Linked DNA regions of Homo sapiens: region 2 is linked to region 1. Evidence: promoter capture Hi-C in human tissues and cell types (Jung and others, 2019). All regions are on one chromosome and are shown on one strand. The core of a region is centred on a gene start or on the middle of the fragment in contact, and the rest is flanking DNA. Distances in the headings are between cores, read along the strand shown. Region 1 holds the start of MYSM1 (Myb like, SWIRM and MPN domains 1). Region 2 has its middle 330 kb from the start of OMA1.

Region 1 (2,541 bases), core at 14-2,513:
ATCTGCAAAGCTTTGAGGGACAATGACCATATGAGTTTAATCACCCCTCACGTCTTTATAGGGCTTTAGAGTTCATGATACACTTCTAAACACACTATCTTAGTGCCTCAAGCGCTGGGTTAGTACTTCTCCCCTGTTCACAGAGGCCCTAATATTAGGCTGAACTACATGAAGTTGCCGCTTTATAGAACAAAAATGGTCTAAATATTGGCAATTTCATATGGTTCAAGCTAATACAGTTCTAAGGAAATTGTACATAATTATAAACAACATAGCTGGCTGACTTTAGAACTCAGGCTTTCTGATTCCTGGCTAGTCTAGGACTCTTCATGACTAAAAGGAGACTCATTTTTGATTCAGAAAGCAAGGAGTCAAAGGAGGTTCTGTGTCAAATCACACTGGGCTGTTTGTTCTGCTGGAACAGGTATTTTAAAAAATGTGATCCCTTACTGGATTCTCACAGTACTGTCCCCGAGGGTAACAGGATGGTAAAGAATACATTCAGAGGGCACCTACCGTATGCTAAAGCATATCTCATAATCATTTCATTTGATCCTCCCAATTACATATCATGACTCCCAGTTTAAATATGAGCAGTCTGAGGCTCAGACAAGTTAAGTGTCTTGCCCAAGGTCACATTGCTATTAACTGGTAGGGCGAGCAAATGCAGAAGGAAAACCCAGAACTGTCCAACTCTAAAACCTGGCCCATTTAAGTCAACCTGCTTCTCGGGAAGTTTTACAACTATCCCCATGTGGAAGAAGGGATGAAACGACTCGCCCAAGGTCACACGGCTAGCAAGCCATAGAACAAGAGTCCCTGACCTCAGGTCTCGTCCGTAGCCGCTCTTGTTCTAGTTACTGTCGATGAGATCCTGAAAAGGAGGGAACGGAAGAAGGAATCTAAATGTAAATCAAACGCAATGTGGTAGGCGAAATCGGTGCCCTCACAGCATCCGGCAAAAGGTGAAAGCGACCCAGGAGTACCTGAGCTCCAGGTAACCGCCCTGCCCGCTGGGCTTGGGACAAGCCGGCGGGCGAGGTGCCTCCCAGGCCAACAAGAGACCCTGGCCCAGGGGACAGTCTTCTGTTCCCTTTTCCCTTGCCGGACCTGCAGCTTTCCCAGGGCCCGCTCCTTCAATCCACTCCCCTCTCCGCCCCAGAGAGACCCGGTCTCTAAGCCTCACCCTGGCTGTGCCCCCGCCGCCGCTACCACGTCCCCTTCGATATCCACATCCGCCTCTTCAGCCGCCATGATGGGACCTGACCCCGTCCGTCCTCCCGAGAGATCCCGCGAGACGAAGATGGCCCGGGGGCAGGGCCTAACGCGTCACGGGGCGGGATTGAAGCGTCGTCCGGCCCCTCCCGTGCCGGGAGGCGGGGTTTCCAGAGCAAAGGCGCCCCCAGAGGCCTGGGGCTTGGTCCTTTCTAACTTGTTGACATGTAGAGACCTTGGGAAGTGGCCCACGCCTGAGCTTTTTTTTTTTGAGAGGGAGTTTCACTCTTGTTGCCCAGGCTTGGGTGCAATGGCGCGTATCTCAGCTCACTGCAACCTCCACCTCCCGGGTTCAAGCGATTCTCCTGCCTCAGCCTCCCAAGTAGCTGGGATTACAGGCATGCGCCACCACGCCCGGCTAATTTTTGTATTTTTAGTAGATACAGGGTTTCACCATGTTGCCCAGCTGGTCTCGAACTCCCGACCTCCCGACCTCAGGTGATCCGCCCGCCTCGGCCTCCCAAAGCTCTGAGATTACAGGCGTGAGCCACCGCGCCCGGGCCCTCCTGAGCTTCTAAGAGCTTCTGTTCTTGCACACATTCTTTGGGACCTCACTGCTCTCACTGATAAAATGGGGATAACAGCAGTATCTTTCTGGACTGATGAAAAAGTCAAGCTAGACCCGCTTTGTGAACTGAAGGTTGCATACCTGCTGGTTATTTAAGTCTCTCTCTTTGTTTTTTAAAGAAAAGGGTCGTGCAGCACTTATGTGAAGTCGTTCAGCATTTCACCTAAGTGCTGAACAACTTTTATTTTAAAATTCAACAAATATTTAAGAATATAACTTATGATTGTGTAATTTATTTTGTAGACGTCTTTGCAATTTAAAAATCACGCTCATGACCATTAATCCTTACAGTGTCCCAGTGAGGTAGGCAGAGCTAATATCACCAGTTATACTTTACAGGTGAGGTAACTGAGGCCTGGAGAGCTGAAATGACTGTCCAAGGACAGGTAGCTTCAAAGACAGAGCCAGGAGTAGAATCCAGGCTTTGTTGACCCTCTACTGAGTGCTCACCATGTAACAATCATGTTGTTAGAAATTGGAGGATAAACACCACTTCTGTCTAGTTTATAGTTTCTCAAGAAATTAGATACTGACAGCCAGATGCGGTGGCTCACACCTGTAATCCCAGCACTTTGGGAGGCCAGGGAGGGCGGATCACAAGGTCAGGAGTTCGAGACCAGCCTGACCAACATGGTGAAACCCCGTTTCTACTAAAAATACAAAAATTAGCTGGGCGTAGTGGTGGGCAACTGTAGTCC
Region 2 (2,541 bases), core at 24-2,523, 490 kb before region 1:
ATCACCCCACCCCTAATTAGGAGAAAAACATCATGAAGACAGAAGGAGTGAACCAGGGTACATTTTATTGGAATGATTTCTAATTTCCTCTGATTCAAGTTCCATTTGGGAACACATCAGCTGGTTGTTAAAAACTTTTAGTTAAATAAGACAAACAGAGCTGGTGGAGGGGGTGGAGTTATCAGTGTTCCAGATCCAACAGAGTTAAGAAAACCTCAACCCTTACTTGGTATTTTGCTGCCTCAGAATGCTGGTTCTTAGAGCCCATTTAAAAAGCTAAAATAACTTCCAAAAAAGAAACAAACAAAATAGACGTAACACTGCAGCTGTGTTTTTCAGATCAGTATTTTAAGGTAAGGACTTGATGTTAGAAAGGAAGAATCTACAGTAATCCGAAAAGGTCAATGTGATCTGATTTGCAAAGGTCAAATTTGGTATAAGGAATGAAAGTGAAGAGTTATATGGCTTCAGGCAACTGATTCTTTTGTTGGCCTCAGTTTCCACATCTCTAAGAGGGGTTTTGAGAATCTTTGAGGTCTATTCCAATCCAGACATTTCATAAAGAGAGATTTTAAGTCTTAAGATTAAAGGCAGGGTCATTGTATTAGTCTGTTCTTATGCTGCTAATAAAGACATACCCGAGACAGGGTAATTTATAAAGGAAAGAGGTTGAACTGAGTCACAGTTCAGCATGGCTGAGGGGAGGGACCTCAGGAAACCTACAATCACAGTGGAAGGCAGGCACATCCTTCTTCATATGGTGGCATCAAGAAGTGCAGAGCGAAGGCCGGGAAGAGCCCCTTATAAAACCACCAGATCATGTGAGAACTCACTCACTACCATGAGAACAGCATGGTGGTAACCACCACCATGATTTAATTACCTCCCACTGGGTCCCTCCCACAACACCTGGGGATTATGGGAACTACAATTCAAGGTGAGATTTGGGTAGGGACATAGCCAAACCATATCACTTATATAAGTTTGGACAAAGCCAACTTCCTTTCTTGAATTACAGAAGTGTCTGGATCTGTAGTCTACCACTTTGTGCTTTCCTAAATTGGGACTTCAGTACCTGTACTCCTCATTCAACAATATTTATGTCTGATGACTTCACCTCCTACTTGTTTCCCATGCCTGCCCACTGGAATCCATCCACCCTTCTCTGTTTCTTTGCCATAACCTTAGGCCAAGCCATATCATCTCTTACGTGGATTACTCCAAAGGGCTTTTAATTGTAATCCTGCCTGAGTCTTGTGCCCACTTAACTCTATCTTTCACACTGCTTCTGAAATGCAAAACATGTCACCCTCCAGGTTAAAACATTTCAATATCTCAACATAGTTACACGGGAAAAAAGATCTTCATCCACCTGCTCCTGATTGCCTTTCCACCCTTATTTTCTGCAGCCTCCTGTCATAAACTTCTGGCTCTGTGACCTCAAAATCCTACATGCCATGCCCTGCCATTAAAGCCTCCAAGTCTTTATTTGGACTATTCTGTCTCCTCTTTCAGTTGGGTAACTTCTTCATGAAGCCTCTGAACTAGACGCCTCACTGAAGCCCCATTTGAACAAAGTTCCCCTGTTGTGTGCTCACATATTACCCTATTCAAACCTTTTGCTTATCACTGACTGACTTATGCTTAAACCTGAAGGAATATCAGTACTTACGGGCTGCACTTGGAGCTAAAAGCTGACAAAGGAGATTCAAAAAGATAAACCAGGGAGGCTGCACATACCAGGAGAGTGTGGCAGAGAAAAGCCAAAAGAAAGTAAGAAAGAGGGAGTGGTCCCCTATATAAAATTGTGCTTGGACATCTGGTGAAATGAGTTCTGAAAAGTGGCCACTGGATTGAGCAACATAGAAATCCTGGGTGACCTCAGTAACAGCTATTAGGGTTTGTTAAATAATGAATAAACACATGGATTAGTTTCTCTACTCCTCTCAATTCTTGTTTACAAGCTTGCTAGCTTTCAGAAGCAGTAGGCTTGTAGAAACAATATTTTTGCAACATTTCTTTTCAAATGAGATTATGTCTGATGTTGGATCAAGGCTAAGCTTTTGACTAAGATCACCATTTCCAGACAAGCAAATCTAAAGTAACTGCTCTTGGGGCAGGCCACTGTGGCCTCATGGTGCTCTTTGGCCTCTACCTAGAGTGAGTGAGCAATCCTGGAAAATCTAATCGCATGAGGTAAAAAGTCAGAGATGGGGTTTTCCTTCCAGCATAGGATTTTCAGCATGGGCAGGTTTCAGAGGGCCTCTATCAGAGAAGTCAATGAATCAAAGGGCATTTGCAGAGATGCTGTCTTCCCCTTGCCCATACATCTGCAGAAATAGGCCTTACTGAAACCATTAGCATAAAAACTGCATGTTTTGTAAGGTTGACTTCTTTGACCCCCTCTTCTATCATCTTCTTACTGGTTCTCTAGGCTATAATCATCCCAATCTTCTACGTGTCCCTTGCACACTTCAAATATTTTTGCAACTCTGGGCCTCTGTCTTTGCCATTCCATTTACCTAAAATTCTTCCCCAAGA

Evidence for each region. The method cuts DNA at HindIII sites, captures the fragments that hold promoters and counts their contacts. A contact is called where the count stands out against the background at its distance.
Region 2: a fragment that was not itself captured here is called in contact with the fragment with the promoter of MYSM1 in region 1 in 1 of the 25 tissues and cell types used here (lymphoblastoid cells).

What each region holds. Positions count from the first base shown.
Region 1 is chr1:58,698,799-58,701,339 of GRCh38, forward strand. It overlaps MYSM1 (Myb like, SWIRM and MPN domains 1), which reads right to left and starts at 1,264. Exons shown (of 20, transcript NM_001085487.3): 1 at 1,187-1,264. The coding sequence starts at 1,254. RefSeq lists enhancers at 759-818, 1,029-1,438. The HindIII fragment of the contact is 3,101 bases long and covers 1-1,905 here.
Region 2 is chr1:58,212,724-58,215,264 of GRCh38, forward strand. It overlaps a transcript of DAB1 not described here. Among named protein-coding and RNA genes, the nearest start is that of OMA1, 330 kb to the right of the region's middle. The HindIII fragment of the contact is 4,036 bases long and covers 1-2,541 here.